7 separate regions of the Homo sapiens genome follow, and all the other regions are linked to region 1. Evidence: promoter capture Hi-C in 16 types of primary human blood cells and fetal thymus (Javierre and others, 2016). All regions are on one chromosome and are shown on one strand. The core of a region is centred on a gene start or on the middle of the fragment in contact, and the rest is flanking DNA. Distances in the headings are between cores, read along the strand shown. Region 1 holds the start of PCDHB15 (protocadherin beta 15). Region 2 overlaps LOC105378198 (a long non-coding RNA gene). Region 3 overlaps LOC105378198 (a long non-coding RNA gene). Region 4 has its middle 12 kb from the start of PCDHA1. Region 5 holds the start of PCDHA9 (protocadherin alpha 9). Region 6 overlaps DIAPH1 (diaphanous related formin 1). Region 7 overlaps DIAPH1 (diaphanous related formin 1).

Region 1 (4,308 bases), core at 1,007-3,506:
ACCAGGTAGACGGTAAGCGAGTCGGCCTGGGCTTGGGCCGGGGCCGCCTCTGGGAGCGGCAGGTAGGGCTGAGAGAAGCCGTCCACCAGGAGCACTTGCAGCGTGGCGGTGGCCGAGCGCGGAGGCTCGCCATTGTCCTTGACCAGCACCACTAGCCTGTGCTTGGCCACGTCGCGCTCGCTCAGCAGCCTGGCGGTGCGCACCTCGCCATTGTGCGCCCACACGCCGAACAGCCCGGGCTCCGTGGCCTTGAGCAGCTGGTACGACAGCCAGGCGTTCTGGCCCGAGTCGCCGTCCACCGCCACCACCTTGGTCACCAGGTAGCCCGGCTCGGCCGCCCGGGGCACCAGCTCGGTGCAGGGCGCGGAGCCGTTCTGCAGCGGGTACAGCACGAAGGGCGAGTTGTCGTTGGCGTCCAGCACCAGCACTCGCACCAGCGCCTCGCTGCTCAGCGCCGGGAAGCCGCGGTCTGTGGCGCCCACGCGGAACTCGAAAGCCTGCAGGGCCTCGTAGTCCAGCGACTGGAGAGCGAACAGGTGGCCGTTGTCCGTGTTAATGGAGACCAGGGAGGTGAGGGGCAGGTGCGGGTCCCGGGGCGGCAGCAGCGAGTAGGTGACCTGGGCGTTGGTGCCCGAGTCTCTGTCTGTGGCGCTGACACTGCCGATGTGCAGGGCGGGGCTGTTGTTCTCGCGGACGAACAGGGTGTAGGAGGTTTGGGTGAAGGCGGGGGCGTTGTCATTGACGTCCGACACCAGCACGGTTATGCTCTGCTCGGTTTTCAGCCTTGGAGTCCCCAAGTCTGTGATGGTGATGGTGATGTTGTACTCGGCTCTGGTCTCTCTGTCCAGCGCCCCTTCTGTTACCAGCCTGTAGAAATTCTCAACAGAAGGTTTTAGCTTAAAAGGAACATCATCCTGAATTGAGCAAATCATTTTTCCATTTTCCCCAGAGTCTCGGTCTCTAATCCTAAACAGGGCCACTTCTGTCTCTGGAGAATTCTCGGGAATAGGGCTGGTAAGTGATGAAATACTTAGTTCCGGGAAGTTATCGTTAACATCCAGCACCTTAACAGAGACAGAGCATTTTCCAGAAAGTCCCCCGCCATCAGATGCCTCTATATCTAGATCATACGAAGACATTGTCTCAAAATCTAGTTTTTTAATTAGTCGAATTTCTCCTGAAAGGCTGCTTAGCTCAAAAGGTTTGTCTATCTCCTGAGAGCTGTAATAAAGGGAGTATGATATCTCTCCATTTGTCCCAGTGTCTAAATCCCTAGCAGAGACCTTGACAACTAGGGAGCCTACTGGGCTGTTCTCTGGGACCTGCACCTCGTAGAGCGCCTGCACAAACTCCGGGGCATTGTCATTGGCGTCCAAGACCAAGATGAGGATCTGGACGGTGCCAGATCGGGGTGGAGAGCCACCGTCCACCGCTGTCAAGGTTAATCTGAGCTCGGCCTGCTCCTCGCGATCCAGTTCTGTGTCCAGCACCAGCTCTGGGTATTTCCTGCCATCCCCTCGGGTGCGAGTGGAAACATGGAAATGAGAATTGGGAGAAATATTGTAGTTTTGAACATTATTGCTGCCCACGTCCAAGTCCCGAGCTTTTTTCAGAGGAAACACAGTCCCAAGGGAGCTAGTTTCTGGGATTTTCAGGGTCATTTCTCTTTCAGGAAACTCAGGAGAATGATCGTTTATGTCTGTCACTAGTAGTTCAGCTCGAAATACTTCCAAAGGTTTTTTCAGTAACACTTGGAAATGCATTATACAGGGCTCAGTAGGGCCACACAGCTTCTCCCGGTCCAGCTTCTCATTTAATATCAACTGCCCGGTCTGCAGATCAAGCTGCAAGCCTTGTTCGTTATCCTCAGAAACTACCCGGGCTCCCCGCTCGGCTAGCTCCCCCACTCCCAGCCCTAGGTCATTGGCCAGGTTGGCTACAAAAGAACCTCTCTCTGTTTCCTCCATCACAGAATAGCGACGGGGTTCCCAGCCTGCCAGAGTCACTTCCAGTAAAAGAAGGAGAATCAGGACTTGCCTTTGTTCGGGAAAGCGCTCCCCTGCAGGCTCCATCTTTACTTCTGTACACGCCCCTTTCAAGGAACCGGAGTCAGAGCTACTTCAGGGAGCGATGGGACAGAGGCAGTGATCGATCTGTGCGTTGATAACCTGTTCGGAAATGTAGGAGAATAGCATTCTCCGGAGACACTGGTCCGTGCTCTGCTAACAGGCTTTCCTCTTAGGCTGAAAGAGGTCTGAAGTAGCTAGTAGCATTTCATGGGCTTTTTCCTTTTCCTTTTTTTGAAGCCTTAGCCTGCAGCGCCACCATGCGTTGTCTTTGCTTCGAAACGAATTGCTACAATTGATCTATTCTCTATTCTATTAGGAGTTTGGAAATTGGGAGGAAATGATGTAATCACAATATCACGCAATGGTAATTATTAATTTCTTCATTTAAAGGAGTATTATTGGTCTCTATGTGCCAAATTATGAAATACATCAGTAAACAACCCAGACATGGTCCCCACCCTCCAGAGCCTGTAGTCTGGGTGTAGTGTTCTGAGGGAAATTGAGAAGTGAAAGAAGACATAATAGTGATCAGTCATCTTGTAATAATAATAACATAAAGCCACGTGATTTCTTAAAAATTTATCAGCAAAACAAAATGAATTCTTTAATTTCTTTCAAATTCTAGACAGCCTATGTACCAGAATTGTGCTCCCATTGGTTGGATTACATCAAGAAAAAGCTACACGTTAATTCCAGTGTGGTATCCTTTCTACATAAAGTCAGAGAGTTATGATTTTATGAAAATTTTAAACTGTGGAAAAATACATATGAAGGCACTTCCTATATCTCTTACTTTGCTTTTTCTTTTTTTTCTTTTCATTTTTCCTTTTTTTTTTTTTGAGATGGGGTCTTGCTCTGTTGTCCAGGAGGGAGTGCAGTGGCACAATCACTGCTCATTGCAGCCTTGACTACCCAGGCTCAAGCAATCCCCCCACCTCAGCAACTGTAGCTGGGACCACAGTTGCGCATCACCATGCCTGGCTAATGTTTTAATTATTTGTAAAGATGAGGTCTTGCTATGTTGCCCGGGCTGGTCTCAAATTTCCGAGCTCAAGCAATCCTCCTGCCTCAGCCTCCCAAAGTGCTGGGGTTATAGGCATGAGCTGCTGTACCCAGCCCTGCCTTGTCTCTCTCGTATTTATTATCTGACGTAGTATAGATGTACTTATTTAGTTGTTTCCTTTCTGTTTCAACCTCACATGTTAGAACTTCATTTTGTTCACTGCTGCATCCCCAATATCTAAAATAATCCCTGGCACATGGTACGTGCTCAATAAATATTTGTTAAATGGATCCATTAATAAATCACAATTAATTTAAACATTCTGACAGATAGGTTCTCCTCCTACTGTAGAAATTCCCTCTTCTTCTGGGATTCAAGTTCATTATATAAGATGGATAAACAAAGACAACATGTTCATAAGGTAGCTATTTCCTATGCCCTTTAAATAGTAATGTGAAATAACTCAGAATGACCTAAAATGTCATTTCATTAAGTGGCAAAACAACTTAGCTACCCATAAGCAAGGGATATATTATATGACAGAAAGAAAGAACATAACAAGATTATGATGACCCTAAAGATAAGGATTATGTCTCTTTTAGACACACATTTTTCATTGTCAAGGTTTTTTTTTTACAGTAATGTTATTATGACACTTACGATATTCAAAACTCTTATATAATAAAATGTTCTAAGAATTTCTATTAAACACTTCAAAGACTGTACCATTGGAAAGATCCTTCAGTTTTTCTCAAAATTGTATATTCTGACAAAAGCTAGTGCATGTCCCTTATAGACTACTAATATTTTACAACCTCCTTGATCCCAAATGTTGTCATACTAATATGAAAAGCCACAATAAAAACCCAATAGGAAGAAAGGTCTAACTTACCAACAATGCAGGAATATCTAAACATGCTTTTGACAACAAAAACCTCACTTAGATCTCTTAATTAGAGGGAAATTTATTAAAGAGCACAAATTTGTCTCCAGCAACCTAAGGGAAAAAGACTTGGGAGGGACTGGAAAATCTAAAACAGGAAAATCTATGACAAGGTCATTCTTTTGGTACCTTATTTTTTCTTGTCTCTCAATAGATTGATGTTCTGTATTTCTTTGCAAGTGTTTAGCCAAATATGACACCACTTTCTGCTTATGTTCCTAACAAAGAGACTATGTTGTATCTGGTTCTTAAAGCCATTTTTTTTTAAACAGAGAGAATCAGATTAGGCCAGC
Region 2 (4,308 bases), core at 1,277-3,776, 510 kb after region 1:
TGCAGCCTCATAGCTTAGCTCCCACTTATGAGTGAGAAGATACACCTTCTTATATGAAACTTTTTTATTTAGAGTTAAAACTCTGTATGTTTAGAGTTAATACGAGTATAAAACTCTCCTTATTTAGAGTTAATATGATTATAAACATTATAATATCCAGCAAATTTACAGAAAAACTAGTAGGTAATAAGAATAGCAAATTTTCTGAACATGGAAGTAAATATTCATGAAAGGTCATTTATAAGAAAAACAAACCTGACGCTTCATTATAAAAACAAATATTAATTACATCTCATGGGTCAGAAGTAAAATTTTTAAAAATAAAATAGGTTTTAAAATTTAAAAATATTAAATTGGCAGTGAGGGAGCAACTCACAAATTATTTTATAACGACAAATGTTATCATAAAGGCCCATGCTTAAGAATCAGGCTGAAAGTTGCTTGTTCTGGGCCAGGGGTGGTGGCTCACGCCTGTAATCCCAGCACTTTTGGAGGCCTAGGTGGGTGGATCACTTGAGGTCAGGCGTTCCAGACCAGCCTGGCCAACATGGTGAAACCCATTTCTACTAAAAATATAAAAATTAGCCAGGTGTGGTGGCCCACACCTGTAAGCCCAGCTACCAGGGAGGCTGAGGCAGGAGAATTGCTTGAACCCTCCAGGCGGAGGTTTCAGTGAACCAAGATCACACCACTGCACTCCAGCCTGGGCAACAGAGTAAGACTTTGTCTCAAAAAAGAAAAAAAAAAGTTAATTATTCTGCAGAACTTGGAGGTGATCCCAATGGTACCTCTGAGAAGCCACCCTGTCATTCTAAAAAGGATGAATACGATTAAGAAACATGTTCACCAGCCTGGGCAACATGGTGAAACTTTGTCTCTACTGATACAAAAATTAGCCGGGAGTGGTGGTGTGCACCTGTAATCCCACGAAACTGAGGCATGAGAATCACTTGAACCTGGGAGACAGAGGTTGCAGTGAGCTGAGATCGCACCACTGTACTCCAGCCTGGGCAGCAGAGTGAGACTCTGTCTCAAAAAAAAAAAAAAAGAGAGAGAGAGAGAAAGAAAGAAATATATTCAGAGGAATCCTATGAAGAAATAGAAAGTAAAACATCTAGTATTTCATCATTAATAGGTAATCATAGAGAAGAATAAAAAGAAGAATAAGGAAGGATATGAGGAGAATTGTTACTAAAGGAAATCTATGTTGTATTTTACTAATTGTTCATTTTGGGGCTTTTTTATTTTTATTTTTTTGTAGAGACGAGGTCTCACTATGTCACCCAAGATGGTCTCAAACTTCTGGCCTCAAGTGATCCTCCTACCTCGGCCTCCCAAAATGCTGGGATTATAGGTGTGAGCCACTGCACCTGGCCTCCTGTTCATTTGGATTTTCACTTCTCTGTTTTATTCTTCGTGCCTTCATCTTACTTTAATATTTTCTAAAATTCTATTTTGAGTTAATACTATGTTTTTTAGTGCATCTCTTTGTATAACATGTTAGCGGTTGCTCTGTCCACAACTTATCAAAGTCTATTCATTTTTTTCCGTCTAATTTCTCTCTGTTGTTTAGGTTGGATAATTTTTATTATTCTATCTTCTAGTTCACTTGTTATTTTTTCTGCCTCCTCCATTATGCTGCTGAACCCACCCACCCCATCCACTGAGGTTTTTATTTCAGTTATTATATTTTTCAGTTCTAAAATTTCCATTTAGTTCTTCTTTTATCATCTATTTCTTTGCTTATGCATTCTATTTTTCATTTATTCCAAGAATGTTTATAATTGCTTATTGAAGCATTTTTACAATGGCTAATTTAAAATTTCTGTCAGATAATTCTAATATCTCTGTCATCACAATGTTGGCATCTGTTGATTGTCATTTTTTCATTCTGTTTGAGATCTTCTGGTATGATAAGTAACTTTTCATTAAAACCTGGATATGTTCATATTATATTCCGCTACTCTGGATCCTATTTAAACCTTCTGTTTTAGTGGGATTTCTCTGATACCATTTAGGCAGAAGGGGGAACAGAGAAAGAAGGAGATGTCACCTAATTACTGCCAGGTGCAGGCAGAAGTCCAGGTTCCCCACAGAGCCTCCATTGCCACCTGAAGAAGGGAGCTCATTGTTACTGCTGGGTAAGCATGGAAGTTCTGGCTCCCCTGACACCACAGTGAGGATGGCCACATTACCACTGGGTAGAGGTCTAAGTCCAGTCTTCTCATATAATCCCCCCTGCTGGGAAGGGAAGTATTAACAAAAGATCATGAGATTTGAGGAAGAAGAAAAAAGAGAGTTTTATTTCCTATAAATGGTTACAATCTGCAGGTTGGGAAATGAAACATCCAGCCAAAATGAAAAGCATCTGCTTCAGAGACAAAAGGGAGAAGCTGGGACTTATGCCCAACAAGATGAGCTATATGTACATATTCAGTAGCTTATAGGAGAATCTATGAATATTTGAGAAAACCCTAATGCATGCAAAGAGAATAAACATATATGTTACATATGTTCCATGTTCATTTTGGGGTGGGGATTTAATAGTAAAGTGAAGTGGCACGTGGCTGTTTATATATAACAAGGTGAAACAGAACACAAAGGCATCTTGTGCACAGCCTCTGTGGACTAGGTGCAATCAGTCTGTGGTCGGTGGTCAGTATAACAATGGAATGTTTAATAAGGCTGGTCAGTAGTCATGGTGAAACCACGATAAAAGAGGGGAGGTCAGCCATGACATCAAGAGGTCTCTTGAGGTTGAGGGAGAAATCTTCCAGACAGTTTTTTAGGAACTCGTTTCTGTTTAATTGTAGGAAGGAAAGTTTTGAGGCAGTTAACAAGGTAGGGGAGTGTTGAGGTGTGACTGACCTCTTGCCTTGCCAAAGCCATAGAATGCAGTTTTCAAAGTTTCTGGGGTCTCTTTTGCAACAAGAAGTCCATTCTGTTTCACCTAGGGGCTTAGGGACTTTAGTTTTATTTCACACTTTCCAGCTTTAGGCTGAAATCTGCCATAGGCAGCATTGATGGCTAAATTTTCTAACATGTCCCATGTCGTTCCCAGGATGGTGTGGATACCTGCCCCAGGTCTATCTAGTCTGTCAGTGGGACTCATGTGGCTAGGAGACTTACAACCAGTTGAATATTTTAGGCCAGGCAAGAAGGAGGCAGACAGCTATTAAGACCCTTTGAACCTTTGAGACTAGAAAAACAGTAACAACAGAAAAGTTGAGAAGGTAAGTTTATGTTTATGTTGTCTGTCATTTCTATGCATTGTGCTACCATAACTTTGGTTTTAGTGACAGACTTGAAGTAGTTGGTTATAGATCTTATAAGTACTTTGACTATCAAAAATAGGAACAAGATAGTGATATGATAATGACAAGGGTTTGTAAGATGGATTGGAAGTAATTTCTAATACTGCAATGAGTCAGCTAAAAACGTTATTAAGGGGATCTGTGGTTTGTACCTCCTGTAACCAGGCAGCCTGTTGGGTGATCTTACCTACATGGGTTGTTAAATCTCCTATAATGTTGATATAAGTGCAACAAGTGGTGTGGGCTATCATGCAAATTCCCCCTTGTTTAGCAATGAGAAAACCTGGTGCAATTTGATTGTCTAAAACCACTTGAGCGAGAGAATTTAAGGACTTCTACTGTGTCATAATACTTATTGCAGCATTTTCAGCAATTTGTCCTATGGTGGCCGGCATTTTTTTTTATCGTATCTCTGTTAGTGTATACTCCGTAGCTGAGAAAAATTACACCCCAAAAACTATGCTACCACATATCCTGATATCCACTTGGTAGCTCTCTTTTAGCTTACCGGAAAGCAAGATTTTCTTTATGATTGAGATGGATGGAAAAGAGGGCAACGTAATGACCTAGAAGGCAAAGTCCTTCAACTTGCCAGCTGTTTATGCATCTGTGTGCCTCTTCTTGAACTGGGGGATCTGACTCAATTCTATATAGGAAAGTGTGTCCTCAAGGGGCACAAGTTATACCTCCAAGGGTATGCCAATTTATACGTTCATTTATGAACAAGATATCTATTATGTGAGTGAACCACGAACTGGTTTTGTTGCAAGCCTTCTAGAAGCCTGCAGAGGCATGATATCTAACAAAGAGGAGCTGTTGTCAGTGTTTGATATTTTTTCTTTGGGCATTCAGTGGTTATGTACAGTAGCAAGGGTGGGAGTCCCAGAATCTAAGGAGAAAGCTACATAGACATAAAAATCTTAATCTTTTTAAAACTCAGTTTTCTGGTTTGGTGCAGTGGCTCATACCTGTAATTCCAGCACTTTGGGAGGCT
Region 3 (4,308 bases), core at 1,016-3,515, 490 kb after region 1:
TGTAAAAAGCATTTAACAATTAACATTTTACCATACACAGTCTTTCTCTGTGTGTGAGTGTGTGTGTGTATCTATAGATAGATATAAATAGATACAGATCTATTCCATATATCTCCAAATGAATATACATAGTGAGAGAGAGAAAGAATGTGGCAAATGGTAGCTTAGATTCACCAACTATATAAACGTTCATTGTCCTGTTTTTGTAAGTTTTCCATGGGTTTGATATTTTTCAACATTTGAAAAAATATTCATAATCTGATTATTTTATTTTCCCCACCGCTGCCACCCTGGTCAAAATTATTATAACCTTTCATTGAGGTCACTGAAATAGCTCTTATTGTATCCTCCTGCTTTTACCCTTTCCTCCTACATCATATTTCTAATATGGCAGCCAGAGTAATCCTTTAGCCACATCACTCCTGTGCCAAAAAGAGTAGCTCTAGCTTCCTATTTCCCTCAGGAAAGCAAAGACTTACAGTGACAAAGAAAACCCAAGTTATCTGTTTCTTTTATTACCACCTTGGCCTCATTTCCTCCTAATAATTATTATCTCTCTGATCCAAGCACACAGACGTCTCTGCTACTCCTTGAACACAATAAGCATTCTTCTTCCTTAGGGCATTTGCTGTAGTTTTTCCCTCTGCCTTAAATGTTTTACCCCAAGAAAACAGCTTGGCTAACTCCCTCACATCCTTCAAGTTAGATATAATTTCTTAATGAAGTCTATCCTGATTATTCTATATAGCTCTTTAATATTGTGACATTCATCCCATCTCTCACAGATTTCTGATTCTCTTAATCTGTTCTACTCTTTCATTATGCCAAAGCACATTTTATCTTCACCTTAATGAATATAATTTCATGCCACTGCACTTCAGCCTGGGCGACAGAGCAAGACTCTGTCTCAAAAAAAAAAAAAAAAAAGAATTTCCATGCAAATGGAGACTGTAAGAGAGCAAGAATAGCTGTACTTACATCAGATAAAATAAACTTTAAGTCAAAAACTCTAAAAAGAGACAATGAAAGTCATTATATAATAATAAAAGTTCAATTCAGCAAGAGGATATAACAATTGTAAATACAAAAGCATCCAATATTGGAACACCTAAATATATAAAGCGAATATTAATAGATCTAAAGGGAGAACAAGACTGCAATACAATGATATTAGGGGGATTTGCTATCCATTTTCAGCAATGGACAGGTCATCCAGACAGAAAATCAACAAAGAAACTTCAGATTTAAACTGCACTGTAGACCAAATGGACCTAGCAGACATTTACAGAACATTCCATCCAACAGCTGCAGAATACACATTCTTCTCAACTGTACATAAAATATTTAACAGAATAGATAATATGTTAGGCCACAAAACAAGCCTTGACAAATTTTAGATTGAAATCATATCAATTGTCTCTTCTGACCACAATGATATAAAACTAAAAATCAATAACAGAAGGAACTTCAGAAACTTTATACATTCATAGAGAGTAAATATGCTCCTGAAAAACCAATGAGTCAATGAAGAAATTAAAAGACATTTAAATATCCCTTTTGGACAAATAGAAATGGAAACACAATGCACCAAAACTTATGGGATACAGCAAAAGCAGTTCTCAGAGAAAAGTTTATAGCTATAAACACCTACATTCAAAAAGAAGAAAGGTTTCAAATAAAGAATCCAACATTATACCTCAAGGAACTGGAAATACAAGAACAAACTAAATCTAAAATTAGGAGAAGGAAGTAATAAAGGTCATAATTTAGGTGAGATGAGGTGGCTCACGCCTGTAATCCCAGCACTTTGGGAGGCTGAGGTATATGGATGACTTGAGCACAGGAGTTCAAGACCAGCCTGGGCAACATGGTGAAACACCATCTCTTCCAAAAATGAAAAAAAAAAATAGCCAGGCGTGGTGGCAGGTGCCTGTGGTTTCAGCTGCTCAAGAGGCTGAGGTGGGAGGAACTCTTGAGCCTGGGTAGTAGACGTTGCAGTGAGCCAACATCACACCACTGCATTCCAGCCTGGGTGACAGAGTGAGGCCTCGTCTAAAAAATATCAGCATATAAATAAATGAAATAGAGGCTTGAAAAAAATACAAAAGAGCAACAAAATTAAGAGTTGGTGTTTTGAGAAAAAATAAAACCAGCCAACAGTTAGCTAAACTACCTAAGGAAAATAGAGAGAAGACAAACAAAACAATAATGAAAAAGGAGACATTATAACTGATACCACAGAAATAAAAAGGATCATAAGACATTATTATACAATTTTACACCAACAAATGGAATAACCTAGAAGAAACAGATAAATTCCTGGACACATACAACCTACTAAGATTGAATTATGAAGTTATAAAAAAATTTCAAGAGACCAATAATGAGTAAGGACATCGAATCAGTAATAAAAAGTCTCCCATCAAAGAAAAGCCCAATACCTGGTAGTTTCACTACTGAATTCTACCAACATTTAAAGAAGAATAAAAACCGGGCGCGGCGGCTCATGCCTGTAATCCCAGCACTTTGGGAGTCCAAGGCGGGTGGATCACGAGGTCAGGAAATCGAGACCATCCTGGCTAACACGGTGAGATCCCGTCTCTACTAAAAATACAAAAAATTAGCCGGGCGTGATGGCGGGCGCCTGTAGTCCCCGCTACTCGGGAGGCTGAGGCAGGAGAACGGCGTGAACCTGGGAGGCTGAGCTTGCAGTGAGCCGAGATCGCACCACTGCACTCCAGCCTGGGAGATAGTGCAAGACTCTGTCCCAAAAAAAAAAAAAAAAAAAAAGAAGAAGAATACCAATTATTCTCAAAATATTTCAAAATACTAAAGAGGAGAGAATACATTCAAACTCATTCTGCGAGGCCAGCATTACTCCGATATCAAACCTGAAAAAAAGCCCCCAATTACTCCAGGGGAAGGAGCAAGTTGAACTGGAAAGGAGCAACCTGCCCTCACCACATGCCTCTGGAATCTGGGCAGGAGGAGACCCCTCAACCACCATGGACACTTGAGTTGGCAGGGAGAGCTGCTTAGAGAAGTGGTAGGGGAAGCACTCCAGCTGGTGCAGAGCCCAGAGGGTTTGTTGTGGTAATGTCTGTAGTGAAGCATAATCAGGGATGCCCATCCCCCTAGGCTTGATTTGCTCCCATAAGAGACTTTAGCCCTAGGGGAACTGTTGGACATGAGCTCTCAGGGCAGTCTTGCCCACCAAATGAGGCCAGTCTGACGTGAGCACCCCTTTGCCTGCTGACCTCTCGCAGGGCCCCAGCCTGGCTGCACCTGCTTGCAATGCAGCCTCGAGTGCCCTCGGGGGGCTGCATCATAGCTCCTGCGCTGGCAGACTGCACCAGCCCACCCACTCCCTCCCCTCACTCCAGGCCCACAACCACCCCTATATTGCTGGAGTATATGTGCATGGGTGGATTTTACCTTCCCTGTCCTACCAGCATGTGTGTGCCCATGAACCCTCTGCTGCCACTGCTGCTGGGGTAAGTGCAGTCCACTCCACCACCTCCCCCATCATACTTCCACTGTAGTCAGAGTGCAGCCCAGCCACCACCAGCACCCTGCCCCAGCACCAACATTGTCACCAGAGTGAAACTAGGCAGAGAAGAGTGGACCCTCCACTGCCCTAAGTGACCACCTCCACCTACATGAAAACACACAGAAGGTGCACACAGTCCTGCACCTGCCAGCACCTTGCCCCCATGCTAACACCACCACCAGCAAACCACACACGCAGTCAGTCACCAGCAGGGACCCCAACCCCTGAGCCATGCTGTCTCTGCCACTGTTATGAATGCCCGAACACCCATGAGCACCAGGCTACAGCCAATAAGCATGTACCCTGCCATGCTGCTTCTGGCACATGCAAATGAGGATGGACCCCGCTGCCACTGCCTTATGAAATGCTTTGACTGTCACCACCTGTAGGAATGCTGAAACCAAAGATGCAGGAGCACCTCAGTCTACCCAGTGCAGTGAGTTCCTAACCTCAAGGAGCCAGAAAACAAAGTTGGGGTCCAGTATTGGTCCCCTAGAGTTAGAGCACGTAGTCCAGGAGTTGTGAGCTGAGCCTTGGCCCCCTGAAATCTTCCAGAGACAAAGCCGGTCAACTGAACCCACCTTATACCACAATCAAACCCTTGAGGTCATCAAATGGGATAAAAGAAAAAACCCATCAAAGGACAGCAACTTCAAAGATTGAAGAAACATCAGCCCACAAAGATGAGAAAGAACCAGCACAAGATCTGACAACTCAACAAGTGAGAATGCCTTTATTCCTCCAAACGACTGCACTAA
Region 4 (4,308 bases), core at 492-2,991, 470 kb after region 1:
CTGCCTAAAGGTAATGAGTTCCCGGAGGAGAAGCCGCCATCATCACTGCAGCTGCCTGCTGTCTAAGCCATCTGAGCTTCCAGGGGGAGAGATGGCAGCCATCACTGCGGCTGTCAGCTGCCTAAGACAACTGAGCTCCCTGAGGTGGGGGCGGCCCTCATCACTGTGGTTGCTAGCTGCCTAAGAAAACTGAGCTCCCTGCGGGAGGGAAGGCAAACATTACTCCAGCTGCTAGCTAAGTACACTGCTACCTGACACTGAACTGGGGGTAGCGGGGAGGGTGGCAGCCATCACTATAGCTCTAGACCACATTTTTCCCCTCCTGGAGCCGGAGAGACAGGACAGCTTGGTTCCAAGAGGTAATCCCCACAGTGCAGTATACAGGCTGTGGCTGAAAAATGCTGAAAACTCAAAAGGCCAGAGTGCCTCTTCTCCAAATGATCACAACACTTCTCCAGCAAGTGCACAGAACTGGACAGAGGTACCATCCTGATACCAAAACCTGGCAGAGATACAACAAAAAAGGAAAACTTCAGGCCAGTATCCCTGATGAACACTGATGCAAAAATCCTCAATAAAATACTGTCAAACTGAATCCAGCAGCACATCAAAAAGTTTATCCACCATGATCAAGTCTGCTTCATCCCTGGGATGCAAGGCTGGTTCAACATACGCAAATTAATAAACATAATTCATCACATAAACGGAACTAATGACAAAAACCACAAGATTATCTCAAAAGATGCCGAAAAAGCCTTTGATAAAATTCAACATCCTTTCATGTTAAAAACAATCAATAAACTAGGTATTGATGGAACATATCTCAAAATAGTAAGAGCCATTTACGACAAACCCATAGCCAATATCATACAGAATGGGCAAAACCCAGAAGCACTTCCCTTGAAAAGCAGCACAAGACAAAGATGCCCTCTCTCACCACTCCTATTCAACATAGTATTGGAAGTTCTGGCCAGGGCAATCAGGCAAGAGAAAGAAATAACGGGTATTCAAATAGGAAAAGAGGAAGTCAAATTGCCTCTGTTTGCAGACAACATGATCCTATATCTAGAAAAACCCATTGTCTCAGCCCAAAAGCTCCTTAAGCTGATAAGCAACTTCAGCAAAGTCTCAGGACACAAAATCAATGTGCAAAAATCACAAGCATTCCTGTACACCAACAATAGACAAGCAGAGAGCCAAATCATGAATGAACTCCCATTCACAATTGCTACAAAGAGAATAAAATACCTAGGAATACAGCTAACAAAAGATGTGAAGGACCTCGTCAAGGAGAACTACAAACCACTGCTCAAGGAAATAAGATAGGACACAACAAATGGAAAAACATTCCATCCTCATGAATAGGAATAATCAATATCATGAAAATGGCCACACCGCCCAAAGTAATTTATAGAGTCAATGTTATTTCCATCAAACTACCATTGACATTCTTCACAGAATTAGAAAAAATGACTTTAAAATTCGTATGGAACAAAAAAAGAGCCCATATAGCCAAGACAATTCTAAGCAAAAAGAACAAAGCTGGAGGCATCACGCTACCTGACTTCAAACTATACTACAAGGCTACAGTAACCAAAACAGCATGGTACTGGTACCAAAACAGACACATAGACCAATGGAACAGAATAGAGATCTCAGAAATAAGACCACACATTTACAACCATCTGACCTTTAACAAACTTGACAAAAACAAGCAATTGGAAAAGAATTCCCTACTTAATTAATAGTGCTGGGAAAACTGGCTGGTCATATGCAGAAAATTGAAACTGGACCCCTTCCTTACACCTTATATAAAAATTAACTCAATATGGATTAAAGACTTAAATATAAAACCCAAAACCATAAAAACCCTAGAAGAAAATATAAGCAACACCATTCAGGACATAGGCATGAGCAAAGATTTTATGATGAAATCACCAAAAGCAATTGCAACAGAAGCAAAAATTGATAAATGAGGTCTAGTTAAACTAAATACCTTCTGCACAGCAAAAGAAACTATCATCAGAGTGAACAGGCAACCTATAAAATGGGAGAAAATTTTTGCAATCTACCCATCTGACAAAGGTCTAATATCCAGAATTTACAAGGAACTTAAACAAATTTACAAGGAAAAAATACAAACAACCCCATCAAAAAGTGGGCAAAGGACATGAACAGACACTTCTCAAAAGAAGACATTTATGCAGCCAACAAACATGTGAAAAAAAGCTCAACATCACTGATCACTAGAGAAATGCAAATCAAAACCACAGTGATATACCATCTCACACCAGTCAGAATGGTGATTATTAAAAAGTCAAGAAACAATAGATGCTGGTGAGGTTGTGGAGAAATAGGAATGTTTTTATGTTGTTGGTGAGAATGTAAATTAATTCAACCATTTTGGAAAACAGTGTGGCAATTCCTCAAAGATCTAGAACCAGAAATACCATTTGACCCAGCAATCCCATTACTGAGTATATACTCAAAGGAATGTAAATCATTCTATTATAAGGATACAAGCACACGTATGTTTATTGCAGCACTATTCACAATAGCAAAGACATGGAATCAACCCAAATGCCCATCAATGATAGACTGGATAAAGGAAATGTAGTACATATACACCATGGAATACTATGCAGCCATAAAAAAGACTGAGGTCATGTCCCTTGCAGGGACATGGATGAAGCTGGAGGCCATCATCCTCAGCAAACTAACACAGGAACAGAAAACCAAACACCACTTGTTCTCACTCATAAGTGGGAGCTGAACAATGAGAACACATGGGCACAGGGAGGGGAACAACACATACCTGGGCCTGTCATGGGAGTGGGGGAGGAAGAGCATCAGGAAAAATAGCTAATGCATGTGGGGCTTAATACCTAGGTGATAGGTGCAGCAAACCACCATGGCACACATTTTCCTATATAACAAACCTGCACATTCTGCACATGTATCGTGGAGCTTAAAATAAAACAAAATAAAATAAATTTTAAAAGTGTCTTGAACTTGATGGAGATTTTGTTGAGAAATAAAATTGATAATTTTTATTTTGATCTTTTAATTCTATTTTCCATGAACTTTTGGAAGTCCCCACATAGGAAAGTAATCCATCTAAGTAGAAGGAATATTTCTCAATGTATGCTATGAAGACAGTATCACCCTGATGCCAAAACCAAAGACAATACAAAAATAAAAAGAAAACACAGAGTGATAACTTTTATAAATTTAGATTTCAACAATTTTTAAAATACTAGCAAATAAAATTTTACAATGAGTAAAAAGAATTATACACCATGATCAAGTGGGCTTTTTTCATATATTCAATATTTGAAAATCTGTCATTATAATCTACCATATTAAAGGGCTAAAGAAGAAAAGACATATGTTCATAATGATTATGTCAATAAATGCAGAAAGACATTCAACCAAACTTCAATATCAATTCACGGTTTTTAAAATTCTCAGAAAAATAGAAATAGAGGAGAACTTTCTCAACCCAGTAAGAAGCATCTATAAAAAATCTATAGACAGATTTATATTTAATTGTGAAGAACTGAATGCTTTTATCCCAAGATCAAGAAAAAAGCAAAAATATCTATTCTCACCACTCGTATTCAACATAGCACTGGAAGTTCTACACAATGCAATAAGGCAAGAAAAGTAAATAAGAGGAATACAAACGAGAAAGAAATAAAATTGTTTTTATTCATGTTTGACACAACTGTGTACTTTAAAATCCCAAGGAATGGACAAAAAATAAACCACTTCTAGAATAAATGAATTCAGCAAAGTCACTAAAAAAAAGATGAACATAGAAAAGTAAATTGTATACCCATATACTAACAATGAACAAATGGATACCAAAATTTAAAATATAATACCATTTCCATTAACTCAAAAAGGATACTTAGGTGTAAATGTAAAAAAACCATGTACAGGACTTGTGTTCTAAAAACTACAATAACTACACAACACTGATGAAAGATTTTTAAAATCTAAATAAATGGAGAGACATACACTGTGCTCATGTGTTGGAAGACTCAAAAAGTCATGGAGATACATCGATTTTTCCTGAATTGATATATAATTTTACACAGTTTCTACCAAAATGCCAGCAAGATTTTCTGTGGCTATAGATGAGATTACTGTAAAATTTATATGGAATACCAAAGGAACTAGAATAATTAAAACAATTTTGAGAAACAAGAAAAAAGTAGGAAAAATCAATGTACTCTATTTTAAGATTTTTACTAAATAGCTACAGTAATCAAGACTGTGTATAATAATAAGTAGATGAATAGA
Region 5 (4,308 bases), core at 531-3,030, 400 kb after region 1:
GCACGAACACCTGCAGCGTCACGTTGCTGCCCAGAGGCGGCACGCCCGCGTCGCGCGCGCTCACCTGGAACTGTAGCAGCTCCAGCTCCTCGTGGTCCAACGGCTGCAGCGCGTACACCTTGCCGCTCTCCGCGTGCACTGACACGTAGCTCGACAGCGAGCGCTCGCCCAACCGCCGCTCCACCAGCGAGTAGGACACCAGGGCGTTCTCCTGCGCGTCAGCGTCCCGCGCAGACACCGTGAAGATGTGGCAGCCCGGCGGGTTGTTCTCCTTCACGAACACCGTGTACTCGGACTGCGCGAACGCTGGTGCGTTGTCGTTCACGTCGGCCACCTCCACAGACACCCTGGCCGTGGCCCACAGTGAAGGCGAGCCCCCGTCCCGCGCGGTAACCACCAGCTCGTAGGCGGACACACTCTCGCGGTCCAGAGCTCTGTCCAGCACCAACGAGTAGTAATTCTTGTAGGTGGACACCAGCTTGAAGGGGACGTGGGGCGTCAGGGAGCAGGTAACCTGCCCGTTGGCATCTGCGTCTAGGTCGATCACACTAATCAGGGCAATAACTGTCCCCAGTTGTGCGTCCTCTTTTACAGGAACCGAGAGCGTTTTGATAGTCAACTGTGGAGCATTGTCATTTACATCCACAACTTCCACAAGAAGTGTACAATGACCAGCCAGGGGTGGGAAGCCTTTATCGACAGCCTCGACTGGGATCTTGTGTGCTCTACTTTCTTCAAAATCCATATGTCCTATCACTGTGATTGCCCCACTTAAGGGGTCCATGTGGAACTTGGATTTTATATCTGGAGAAACATCACTGGAGAAGGAGTAAATAATATCCCCATTCAAGCCTTCGTCTAAATCTGAGGCATTGGGGTGAATCACCAGCGTTCCGATAGAAACGTTTTCTGGTAATTTCACCGTATACAGGGTTCTGTCGAACACTGGGGCATTGTCATTGTTGTCCAGTACCGTGATGAGTAATTGAACGGTGCCAGTCAGCTCGGGTTTGCCTCCATCGGTGGCCGTGAGCAATAAATGAAGCTCCGGAGTTTCTTCTCTGTCTAAAAGTTTCCGTAATACAAGTCCAAGAGGTTTTACCTGCTGGTTGCTGGTTGGCACGTCCAGGAAGAAATACTCATTGGGGCTCAGTCTGTAAGTGAGCAGGGCGTTCTCCCCGATATCTGCATCGGACGCGCCCTCTAGTGGAAACCGAGAGTCAAGCGGCCTGGATTCCGCGATGAACAGATTCTTTTGTGTCGCTGGGAACACTGGAGGGTTGTCGTTAATGTCCTTCACCTCCACGTCCACATGGAAAACCTGCAGCGGCCTGTCTACGATCACCTCCAGGTGGATGCTGCACTCCGCGCTCCGCCCGCACAGCTCCTCGCGGTCGATCCGAGAATTCACAAACAAAATGCCATTCTGCAGATTTACCTCCAGAAGGTCCCCGCGGCCTTTGGAATCCAACTGGAACAGGCGCGGCACCAGCTCCGCCAGCTCCAGCCCCAGGTCCTGCGCGATGCGGCCCACGAAGGTGCCGTGTTCGGCTTCCTCCGGGACGGAGTAGTGGAGCTGGCCGCTCCCCACCACCCACATTGCGAGGATCAGAAGCGAGAGCAGTAGAGGCTGACCCTCTGGATCTCCTCGACTTGAGTATAACATTTCAAATACTCAGTCTTCTTCTAATTAGTGAAAATTGCCTCCAAATTAGAAGAAATCATCTGATTTCGTCAGTCCCATTCTGCTGTGTTCGCCATCGTTCAGCACAGAGAGAGTGAAAAAGAATTGAGCCTCTTTCCCATGGGAAAAGGGCTGTATTTGTCTGGATTCAGAGAGAACATCGCGGCAAAGAGTGACATCACGTGGCCCAAAGTGTAAGTACATATTTCATGAATAAAAATTTCACAGTTATTCTGCAAAACTTATTTCATTTTCTTAATTTTTTCTTAAGTAATGATTGTTGAAACAGAAGATCCCGTTTCTCTTGCTGGAGCCTTCTTAGCAGACTGACTGCCTCTAAAAGTTTTGTATGACCTTGATTGTGGTTTTCTTATCCCTGAGAAAACTCTCCACTTAAGTTTTAAATAACGACAGAAATGAAGTAACAATTAAAATGATTCCATTGAGCAATCACGAATTTTAAATTACAAAATTCTTTTGTTCTGGAATTCAGAATCTCCCATATGGCTCGAAATAGGATTCTAGTGTAAGAGAAATCCAGGAGTTGCAATCTCTAGTGAATATAGGAGCCCAGAAATCTACTGATGAAAAAGAAACTTAGTCATGTCTGGTAAAAGGAATCAACAAAAAGTAGCAACCAACTGAGGTAGTTTTCTTGAGTAATTCTATGAATTGAAAAGGTATAAAATATTGCAAGAAAAGCGAGAATTGACTTTAAGGTCTTGTGTTGCGTGGGGAGAAAATATATTTTTCTCTTTTGTAGCATTTATACAATCTGTTTCCAGAAATGTGTTGTTTTGATTCTTTCCAAGCTTTATAATCTATGAATAATCTCTTCTTTGTAGTCTCCAATATAGTTTGTGTAATGTTATTACAATATGTTTTAATTTCATTATTGCTCATCCTTAGTACTCGGGGCAATTTCTGTTTTTAAAGCTATGCTTGAGATTCTTTTCCTGACTAAGTTCTACAAAGTTTTGTTGTGAGTTTTACTATCTTATTCCAACGTCCAAGTCGATTAATTAAATCTAGATTTTAGTGTATCTCAAGTCTAAAGGCAAAACCGTGAGTGTTTATTGTGCCATTAATGTTTTTGCATATTTATCTTTTATTTCGTATTTCTACTGATAACAGCCTAAGAGGTGCATTTAACAATTGCTTCTGTCCTTGATTACTGCAGGAGCTTCTGAGTTTGTCTTCCCGTTCAACCTTCTTTCAAAAGTCGTGATTTATTTTGCTCAAGGTAGTTAAATAGCTCCCAATTAATTCTAAAGAGTGGCCAAATTCCTTAATCACTCATGGCCCTTTAGTTTATTACTCAGAAATCAAGAGATCTTCTTACATTGGTTTTCCTGCTTTCATTCTCTGCAGACTGTGTGTTTTAACCAAAGTGGACTTTTCTACTTGTCATATTGATGCTTTCTGTGTCTTCAACTTTCCTTATGTTTTCTCTTTCCAAGAAATGTCTATCATTCTCAATATTCTCCCGGGGGGAACTTACTTATTTTAAAACCACTGAAACACACCATGCCCCTTCAAGTATTTCTTCAAAAATTCAAATAGGAAATGATTGTCTTTCAACTTCAACGTCATTCTGATTTACCTCTTGTACCTGTTACATTATCTTGCCTTGCATTGTGTGACTCATATTCTTTATTTGACCTCAAATTTTAAAGCCAGGGGCTGGGGCTCAGTAATAATTCCTGACATGATGATATGCTGTTAGAGATCTGTAAGGGTCCTATTTAATGTTTAATGAAGACTGGTTATTACAATCTTCTCTACTTGCTAAGAAAGCATTTTAGGCTGGGCGCGGTGGCTCATGCCTGTAATCCCAGCACTTTAGGAGGCCGAAGTGGGCGGATCAGGAGGTCAGGAGATCGAGACCATCCTGGCTAACATGGTGAAACCCCGACTCTACTAAAAATACAAAAAATTAGCAGGGCATGGTGGCATGCACCTGTAATCCCAGCTACTTGGGAGGCTGAGGAAGGAGAATCATTTGAACCCGGGAGGCAGAGGTTGCAGTGAGCCGAGATTGCGCCACTGCATTCCAGCCTGGGAGATAGAGCGAGACTCCGTCTCAAAAAAAAAAAAAAAAAAAGAAAGAAAGAAAAGAAAAGAAAAAAGAGAAAGCACTTTAAAAGGCTATTTACAACACTCTACATAAATGGTTTACTTAATTCATAGAACTACAACATAAATTGACTTTAAATCATCATCAAAACATTATTGTATACTTCTTTTTAAGAAAAATACTATTAATGGAAAGATCTCATACATACAAAGAACTCAAACGCCTACTCAGGCCTCTGCAGGATCTCAGGCAACTTTTAAATATGGGAAACATACAACTATCAAAGTAAGATAGTCTACACATTCCTTGGAAGGACTTTAACCTTTCCAAAAAACTGTTTTCCCACATAGGTGGTGTTAACTTGACTTTCCTAAACTCGTAATAACTTTTAGATTTTTTTCATTCCACCACACAACATTCAAAATATTGAAACATCCTAGGTTAATCTAAAAAATGACTTTACAGAAGATAGTTTTACACAAAAATAAGATTAATATGGAAGGCCATAACGACTTTCTGACATTTTAGGTTGCCTTTCTGCAATCAC
Region 6 (4,308 bases), core at 1,624-4,123, 330 kb before region 1:
ACTTGTCCCCCAGTTAGATGCTTTCGTCTTTCAGCCTCCTTTCTTTGTTCTTGGTCCTACCAGTTTGGAATCAAGACCATGTTGGAGACAGAAGAAGGAATCCTACTGCTGGTCAGAGCCATGGATCCTGCTGTTCCCAACATGATGATTGATGCAGCTAAGCTGCTTTCTGCTCTTTGTATTCTACCGCAGCCAGAGGACATGTATGTGACTGGAATAATTTTTCTTCTCCATTTTCAATTTTATCATTTTCTCTTAGTTCAGAGGACAATTGAGTTGGTTGGGTGTCCTCTCGGTCATAAATACTAGGTAAGATTGTGTTTCTTCCCAGAAGTGAACACTAAGCATCTTAAAATTTAAGAACAATTCCTAAGTGATGGGTGCTATCCTGAATGTTCCACTGGTCATCAGAGGTATAGCAAAATGTCTCCTATATCTCCATTAATATCTGTATTGTCTAGGATGAGGGTTTCTTTTTACTATTCTTTTTTTTTTTAATTCAGAAGTGGCACAATGTTATTTTTAAAACTCAAACGATATAGAAGTATATAAAGTAAAATTTAACTGCCTCATCCCTTTGCCAAATCCTATTCTGCAAAGAGAATGACTGTTAATGGCATGGTATAGTCTCATAGAACGTTTCCTAAGCATAGACAAACATATTGCGTTCCCTTGATTCTAGACATCTGCCACCGCAAAAGATAGTATCTTAAGAGCTGAGGAATGACACTTATGCCTATAAAACTAACTGCATATATAGGATAGATTTTTATTATTGAAGAGGGATTTGGTTTAACCAAAGCTAAATCATTCTTTTCAACCTGTTTCTTTTTAATAGTAGATCTTGGACATTTCTTCTATGTCGGTACTTACAGATCTACCTTATTATCTTTAGTAGCTATTTAGTATTCCATATACATGTATGTATGGCCTATAATTTATTTAACAATTCCCCTGTTGCTGGACTTACAGATTTTTTTTTTTTCCTTTTTTTTTTTTGAGACGGAGGCTCGCTCTGTTCCCCAGGCTGGAGTGCAGTGGCGCGATCTCGGCCCACTGCAAACTCCTCCTCCCAGGTTCAAGCGATTCTCCTTCCTCAGCCTCCCGAGTAGCTGGGACTACAGGAGTCCGCCACCACGCCTGGCTAATTTTTGTATTTTTAGTAGAGATGGGGTTTCTCCCTATTGGCCAGGCTGGTCTCGAACTCCTGACCTTGTGATCCGCCCGCCTCGGCCTCCCAAAGTGCTAGGATTACAAGCGTGAGCCACTGCGCCCAGCCAACTTACAGATATTTTTTAAAGCAGATTTCACTATCTGTTCTAGGTGATCATTTTTACAAATGATACTGCAGTGAACATCCTTGTGCATATCTTCTTTCACATTTATGCCCATATGTTGGATACATTTCTAGAAGTAGACTATATGTTACATGCATGAGAAATTGATTAGTACTGTTAAATGCCCCTCCAAAAGTTGTATCAATTTATACTTCATTGAATAGGGGACTTGATTTGGTATTTATGGACAGGAGCCTAGGGATGGATTGTAGGGAATGCATTTCCCTGAAGAGATGGTCCTTAGCTTTCAGCAGTTTCTGGAAACTGAGTGGTGAGAATAATAATGTGAGAAATCCGGAACACTGATAATGTCCTGTTTCCTAATCGGTCTGTGCCCCTGTGTAATTTACTCATTATACGTGTCCGTGTCACAGTACCTGGAAAGTTCTCTCCGTTTCCTTTCTCTTGGGCAGGAATGAAAGGGTTTTGGAGGCAATGACAGAAAGAGCTGAGATGGATGAAGTGGAACGTTTCCAGCCGCTGCTGGATGGATTAAAAAGTGGAACCACTATTGCACTGAAGGCATGTATATCCCCTGAAACTGGGCCCAAGAATAGAATTCAAGATGGACAGACTTAAATTCATTTGACCTTTTAATAAAATACATGGAGTGCCTCCCAACTATATATTTTACATTTCAGAATCTGTTATGAAGGGAAAATGATTAACCTTCTTTCTAAGAAGGTAAAGAATGAACTGTTTTCCTCATTATGAGATGGAAAAAGGCATGATATCTATTTACAATCTAGGAAAACCAAGACCTACAATAACATATACTCTCAAATCCTTGAAACCATTTAGAGTTTAGGCTCTCCGGATCTGTACTCAAACCAGGTCTCATTGCTATAGTAGAAAAGTCATCTTTAGAGTTTTTGTATTGTATCTTTCAGGTTGTATTGGGGACCTAAGAATGCATGTAAAGAAAATGGATTCTTGATCTCCAGGAGTTAGCATTGACATAGCTGCTGAATTTTCTTATTTTAGGTTGGATGCCTACAGCTGATCAATGCTCTCATCACACCAGCGGAGGAACTTGACTTCCGAGTTCACATCAGAAGTGAACTGATGCGTTTGGGGCTACATCAGGTGTTGCAGGTAAGATATTACACTTCATTAGAAAGGCTAGACTGGTTCCTTCTTGCTCTACAGCCCCAATAATCCCGGGGATAATTCTGGTTTTCAATTAAAAACCAGGTTGAAAAGCTTAGGTTTCTAACCACAGAGGATACTTTTGGGTTCCCTGACTTCTACTTTTGTTGTTGACAGGACCTTCGAGAGATTGAAAATGAAGATATGAGAGTGCAACTAAATGTGTTTGATGAACAAGGGGAAGAGGATTCCTATGACCTGAAGGGACGGCTGGATGACATTCGCATGGAGATGGAATATCCTTTTGCTGACTAGGTTCAAGGCAGATGAGACATTCATTGTATTTAGTTCCCTGATCCCTGTGTGGAATGGTTTGGGAGATGATGACTCAGAACAGAGCATCAGGCTTATGTGTCTTCTCATTAAATAAGGCAGGTGTATTTTTATTGCGCTGGCTTTACTTAGCTTATCATAGATCAGGGAAGTCAGTAAAGGTGATCTGAGGGTTGTTGAGCATGGAAGCCATCAAAATCAGTGTAAACTTCCTAGAATGTGATAGCTTAGCTTACTAAGATGTAGAACTGGCTTTTAGAGATGTTTGGACTGACAGAGGGAGTAATTTAGTTACCTGTTAATATTTTCAGTAAGTGACTTTGAGGCAGTTACCTCTTATTTTCTGTCTACTGCCTGATCTTCAAGCCAAGTACTTACTAGGAATCCTCTGTGTGTATAGTACCACCCAATTCACTGGTCCCTTAAAGGACGTTTTAGAAAGCTTAAAGTTTCTGGTGATGTTTACAGGAAGAACAGCCAGTAGAATGGAAGTGGTGTCTTGCTACTTTTCCCTAGCTTTTTCAAGAGTTAAATAAGCCACCTGTCAAACATAATTTCTGCATATTTGCTTTCCTTAGCCTATTTCCCTTTTCCACTGACTTTAATGAAGTCTTTCAGATTCTCTTAAACACAGTGAAGGATTCAAAGGCAGAGCCACACTTCCTTTCCATCCTGCAGCACTTACTCTTGGTCCGAAATGACTATGAGGCCAGGTAAGATGCTGTGCTTATGAGAAGTTTTGAATTTGAGCCTAAGTGGAGAGAGTGAATTCCTTAAATTCAAAGATTGTTCTGTAAAAGGAAAATGTAAAGACAAAGACCCAAGATTAGGGTTCATTAGTCACCGATATAAAGGAAGTTGTCTTATTTCTTTAATCCAACTCAAAGGCATCCCTATGGCAGAGGTCAGAGTGTATAAGGTGAAATGCCGTTCTGTTTTTGGAGGGGAGTAGGTAAATAGGATGAAGATGTTAGCAAACAGAAGTGGCAATTTAAAATTCTTTCTAGTTTCCTGGAAGTATAGATTTAGCAATAGCACTATCCATCACAGGAAGGATCAAACGCAAATTTTTAGATGGGAAAGTATTGGCACTAGGAGCGGATGGCAAGAAGTTTTGATTATTTGAAGTAGATAGGGTAGGGTAGCTGATGTGGAAAAAGGAGTTTTCTTAGCATGGCAGCAATACTTGTGTTAACTTTACAAAAGTTTTTCCAGGTCTCTCAGTTGTCAGAGCAATTACGTTTTCTTGGTCCTGAATACTTCTGAAAATTATATTTTGATTTTCCTTTGATGACCCTGTTTTTATTCTCTTGTAGACCTCAGTACTATAAGTTGATTGAAGAATGTATTTCCCAGATAGTTCTGCACAAGAACGGGGCTGATCCTGACTTCAAGTGCCGGCACCTCCAGATTGAGATTGAGGGATTAATTGGTAAGCATACTCTTCTATCTGGCTCCTCCAAGTATTGCTTCTTCCTTTCATTTTGCATCTTGTTTCAGTGAAAATGTCAGAGAAGATACCTTTCCAGTCCCCAGATAGTTCTATTTT
Region 7 (4,308 bases), core at 883-3,382, 270 kb before region 1:
CCAGACATCAGTGGCTTCCCTCTGCTGGGGAAGCCCCATTCTTCACTTCTTTCCAAGTAGAAAATCAGAACTCACAGGTGGAGGAAGGAGGAATTTTGTTGGAAACTAACCTTCCAGCAGAGGACCTGAATTAGTCAAAGTACTCTCTCCCATGCAAGAGGGAATAGGAGGAGACTTATACTAGGAGATACTAAATTGGAAAGTAGGTGAAATGACAATTACATATATTTTAAGTGGCTCTAGCCTATAAGCTTATCTTTCTAGGCTCTGGGTCCACTAAATACACTTGAATATATCTGGGAGAATCTCAAGGGAGACATTTGTAGTTATTCTGGTAACTCTTTAGACCCTGGTGCATTCACATCATGTAAAGTGATGTGATGCGGTCTCACATTAAACAGGAGGATAGCCATCAGAGTAGATTACAAAGAACACAGGGCTAGGTAGGGATCAAAAGACCTAAAGTCACATCTAGTTCTGATGCTGTCTGTGTTATCCTAAGCAAGTCACTTAATGTTTCTGGGACTCAGTTCCTCAGGTATAAAATGAGAGTTGGACTAGAATGAATGGTCTGCAGGGTCCCTTCCAGCTCTAATATTTTTTTTGTGCAGTGACAACAGGATTAAGAGGAGAGAGAGGCTGGACTTAGATGGCCCCATTCTCAAAATACAAAGGCTCCACTGGCTATAGGTTTCTCTATGCAGCTACTGAATTTGGCTGTTCCACCCCTTGCCTGGCTGTCTCTGACTATTCCTCTTGGCTGATTGCTTTGAGCTAAAAAAACAGAGGCACTGTGGAACATATCTGCCTCATAGCCCTCCTTTTTTCCAGAGAGGCAGCTGTCCCTATTCAAAGACACTAGCTTTTTCCCTAGAATTTAAAGGAATGTTAAATTCTTCCGGTCTCTGGAGACCTGGGGGAGTGACCAGTATACAAAGACTCATTGAGGAGTTGGAAGAGGAGAGTTACTATCAGGCTTGGTTCATTAAAAGCAACATGTAAACTCCTGTGATCCGCAGGGTGTGGGAGAACAATGGTTGGAGTGTCAAGGGGAAGAATCCATGTGATTGTATTACAGCTGCTATTTCAGGCCCATGATTGAGTCAGCTTGTGGTTTTAATGACTCAACTTTATCTCCATGTCTGAATTGTGGCCTCTTGTATACAAGTCATTTGCTCACTGGGATAAAAGCCAAGGGAAGAAAGAAATTCAACTCTTCCTTTCCTTCCCTCTACCATTTCCCAGCTTCCCTATAAGCTCCATCCATCTAACAGAACCATAGAGTTGGAAAGACTCTAAAGACTTCCAGTGATTAGTATCTAACCTTCTCATAGGGAAAGGGATTAAAACCAGATAAGGTGACTAACACGGTGAAACTCTGTCTCTACCAAAAATACAAAAAATTAGCCGGGCGTGGTGGCAGGCACCTGTAGTCCCAGCTACTCAGGAGGCTGAGGCAGGAGAATGGCATGAACCCAGGAGGCGGAGCTTGCAGTGAGCCGAGATTGCGCCACTGCACTTCAGCCTGGGTGACAGAATGAGACTCCATCTCAAAAAAATAAAAATAAAAAACAGATAAAGTCTTGCCCAGGTCTACATGGCTAATGACAGAGCACTGTAGCCCACTTTTGTGACTCCAAGTCCAGGCCTGTTTCCCCTCAGCCTGCGTGATTGAACAGGAGACAGCAGTGAACCCACAGTATGGGCCGGAAATATTCTTTCATACCTTCCAGCAAGGAGAGTCGGACATAATGACATTGCTTCAGGAAGGTGCTCTCATGACCACCTGTGTTAGTCTATTTTGTATTATTATAAAGAAATACTGGAGACTGGGTAATTTATAAAGAAAAGGGGTTTATTTGGCTGACAGTTCTGCAGACTGTAGAGAAAGCATGGCGCCAGCATCTGCTGTTGAGGCCTCAGGAAGCTTCCAATCAAGGGGGGAGAAGGTGTATCACAAGGCGGAAGTGGGAGCTAGAGAGATGCCAGGCTCTTTTAAACAACCAGTGCTTGTATGAGCTCATTACTGTGGGGAGGGCACCAAGCCACTCATAAGGGATCCACCCCATGACCCAAGTGCCTCCCACTAGGCCCCACCTCCAACATTGTAGTCCACATTTCAGCATGAGGTTTGGAGGGGTCATACATCCAAACCATATCACCTCCTATCTAGAGAAGGTTGCTAAGAATATTTCCTGTACCACTGCTTATTCTCCCCCCTACTTTTGTAAATAGGACAAGAAACATAATTAGCAGAGTTTGAGACAAGAATGAGTTATTTAGTGTGATGATGATTGCCCCATCTGTCCTAGTTTCCTCTTCCCTAAGGAAGCTTAATGTATTAACAAGAGCACTTCCTCTTTAGTAATAGTTCCTAGCCTACGTTTTATAAAGGTCTTTTTTCAAATCACTAACCTTTTTAAAACTTGCGTTATATGGTTGATTTTGCTGGTGTTTTTATCCTAGCCCACCCCTAACTTCTAGGAATCTGTCCTCAGAGAGCATTCACCAGTATCTCAACATTGTTCCCTTTTCCCACACAGCCTGTGGGACTGTTCTCTTGTAGTCAAAATATTTATCTGGTTCTATGGCTACTTTTCAATAGTCTAATAACAAGTGAGTAAGTTGGGGGAAGCATGGGGAGGTCAGTTTTTCTTGACTGTTCAACCTGCTGAGCATAATGGTGAGTGAGTGGAAAGCTGGGAGACCTGTTCCAACAAGAGCTTTCTCATCCCCTGACCTTAGGCCAAATCACACCCTCCCTGGTGTATAGGCTTTCAAGGCTTAAAAGGGAAATTTTGATCTTCTCCCTACCTACTCTCTGCTCCTGGTTCTTATGAAGTTTGTAATACATCAGAAGCTTCTTGAGTCCAGAAAAGTCTAGAAACACCACTTGGTTAGGTACAACTGGTATCTTCTTATTTTGGAGGAAGAAACCACAGAAAGCAGCAGCTAAAGACCTACCACATGGGACCTCTGCCTTCTCCTGTGTTGCCCAGGACAAGTGGCCCAGTGTTCTTTTCCCAAGGTCTGGAGTCAGATGTTATTTCAACATATATATACCACTAGAGTTACACACACACACACACATGCACAGAGTCGCAGTGTCTTCTCAACTGTTGGAGACTGAATTCAAAGAAATAATAAAATGATAGGAAACTACTACCCTTCTGGATATGAGAAATGGGGTCTAGAGAGGGAGTACTTCAGAAGAGAGTGGAAATGTAGGAGGCCTGAGGAAGATTTTGGTGGTAAGGACAGTATGAGAAATGCACACATGTAGACCATCATAGTCACACTCACGTAGGCTCCTTTTCCTCACTTGTCTCAGTCACGGGGCATTAGTTTATGTTCATAATCCAATAAATGGTTTTGTGAAAATCCCACAGTCTCGGGCACATACCTATGATCTGTAACTAGATAAGTCCTGTGGCTGTCAGTCAGGGTCTTCACTATTCTTTCTCCTCTTGGTAGACAACCTCTTGTGCCCCTGGGAAGTAGAGGAGGAGGAGGAGACCTTTAAATTGGTAACCTGTGTGCATGCTGCGTGTTCCCTGCTTGATCTATGGGCAGCCTCTCCTGGGATGAAAACAGTAGCTCTGGGTCATGGCTCTGCAGGGAGAGAAGACCTGGTTAAGACTTGGGCTTTGGCAGGCTGTGGTGACTCATGCTTGTAATCCCAGAACTTTAGGTTCCAAGGTGGGAGGATTGCTTGAGCCCAGGAGTTCAAGACCAGCCTAGACAACATGGAGAGACCCCATCTCTGCAAAAAAATACAAAAATAGCCAGATATGGTGGCACATGCTTATAGTCCCAGCTACTAGGGAGGCTGAGGTGGGTGGATCACTTGAGCCTGGGAGGTTGAGGCTACGGTGAGCTGTGATTGCGCTGCTGCACTCCAGCCTGGGCGACTGAGATTCCATCAAAAAAAAAAAAAAAAAGACGGGCTATCTGATCCTGTTTGGCTTCTGCCTACCTAAAGCTTTTTGCTGGTCCAAAAAGGCGCTTCATTCCAGTCATGCAGCTGCCCCAGTCTTGGTCTTTATTTAGGAGTGCTCGGCTCTTTCATCTGGTCCTGCTTCTAAAACATTCCGGTACTGCTTTCTCCACTCCAGCTTTCCCAGATCTCCAGGAAGTCTTTTTTTTTTTTTTTTTTTTCCAATTGAGCTATCATTTACATACCTAAAATTCACCTTTTAAAAATGTATAATTCAGGGGTTTTAGAATATCCACAAGATTGTATAACCATTACTATCTAATTCCAGGACGTTTCATCATCCCCAGAAGAAAAACTTCATAATCCCCATT

Evidence for each region. Contacts are between HindIII fragments. The CHiCAGO score rates a contact against its expected background, and 5 or more counts as called.
Region 2: a fragment that was not itself captured here is called in contact with the fragment with the promoter of PCDHB15 in region 1 in 1 of 17 cell types (M1 macrophages); the score reaches 6.9 in M1 macrophages.
Region 3: a contact is called between a fragment that was not itself captured here and the fragment with the promoter of PCDHB15 in region 1, in 3 of 17 cell types (endothelial precursors, M1 macrophages and M0 macrophages). The highest score is 6.9, in endothelial precursors.
Region 4: a fragment that was not itself captured here is called in contact with the fragment with the promoter of PCDHB15 in region 1 in 3 of 17 cell types (M2 macrophages, M1 macrophages and M0 macrophages); the score reaches 8.5 in M2 macrophages.
Region 5: a contact is called between the fragment with the promoter of PCDHA9 here and the fragment with the promoter of PCDHB15 in region 1, in 5 of 17 cell types (neutrophils, M2 macrophages, M0 macrophages and 2 more). The highest score is 11.1, in neutrophils.
Region 6: a contact is called between a fragment that was not itself captured here and the fragment with the promoter of PCDHB15 in region 1, in 1 of 17 cell types (fetal thymus). The highest score is 5.2, in fetal thymus.
Region 7: a contact is called between a fragment that was not itself captured here and the fragment with the promoter of PCDHB15 in region 1, in 2 of 17 cell types (naive CD8 T cells and total B cells). The highest score is 5.4, in naive CD8 T cells.

The regions. Positions count from the first base shown.
Region 1 is chr5:141,243,343-141,247,650 of GRCh38, reverse strand. It overlaps PCDHB15 (protocadherin beta 15), which reads right to left and starts at 2,256. Exons shown (of 1, transcript NM_018935.4): 1 at 1-2,256. The coding sequence starts at 2,072. It also overlaps PCDHB@ and the pseudogene PCDHB19P. The HindIII fragment of the contact is 5,789 bases long and covers 1-4,308 here.
Region 2 is chr5:140,735,171-140,739,478 of GRCh38, reverse strand. The region is part of intron 3 of LOC105378198 (a long non-coding RNA gene); the gene reads right to left. Among named protein-coding and RNA genes, the nearest start is that of ZMAT2, 37 kb to the right of the region's middle. The HindIII fragment of the contact is 5,793 bases long and covers 1-4,308 here.
Region 3 is chr5:140,752,762-140,757,069 of GRCh38, reverse strand. The region is part of intron 3 of LOC105378198 (a long non-coding RNA gene); the gene reads right to left. Among named protein-coding and RNA genes, the nearest start is that of PCDHA1, 31 kb to the left of the region's middle. The HindIII fragment of the contact is 5,694 bases long and covers 1-4,308 here.
Region 4 is chr5:140,772,095-140,776,402 of GRCh38, reverse strand. No RefSeq gene overlaps it. Among named protein-coding and RNA genes, the nearest start is that of PCDHA1, 12 kb to the left of the region's middle. The HindIII fragment of the contact is 5,471 bases long and covers 1-4,308 here.
Region 5 is chr5:140,845,854-140,850,161 of GRCh38, reverse strand. PCDHA9 (protocadherin alpha 9) reads right to left here and starts at 1,780. Exons shown (of 4, transcript NM_031857.2): 1 at 1-1,780. The coding sequence starts at 1,666. All of the region lies in intron 1 of PCDHA1 (protocadherin alpha 1), which reads right to left. All of the region lies in intron 1 of PCDHA2 (protocadherin alpha 2), which reads right to left. The region is part of intron 1 of PCDHA3 (protocadherin alpha 3); the gene reads right to left. It also overlaps PCDHA4, PCDHA5, PCDHA6, PCDHA7, PCDHA8 and PCDHA@. The HindIII fragment of the contact is 21,410 bases long and covers 1-2,498 here.
Region 6 is chr5:141,576,639-141,580,946 of GRCh38, reverse strand. It overlaps DIAPH1 (diaphanous related formin 1), which reads left to right. Exons shown (of 28, transcript NM_005219.5): 8 at 64-203; 9 at 1,751-1,859; 10 at 2,322-2,432; 11 at 2,604-2,722; 12 at 3,356-3,472; 13 at 4,076-4,191. Among named protein-coding and RNA genes, the nearest start is that of DIAPH1-AS1, 20 kb to the right of the region's middle. The HindIII fragment of the contact is 661 bases long and covers 2,543-3,203 here.
Region 7 is chr5:141,518,163-141,522,470 of GRCh38, reverse strand. All of the region lies in intron 27 of DIAPH1 (diaphanous related formin 1), which reads left to right. It overlaps LOC124901091 (a long non-coding RNA gene), which reads right to left. Exons shown (of 2, transcript XR_007058971.1): 2 at 1,835-3,490. Among named protein-coding and RNA genes, the nearest start is that of PCDHGC5, 31 kb to the right of the region's middle. RefSeq lists an enhancer at 955-1,249. The HindIII fragment of the contact is 405 bases long and covers 1,930-2,334 here.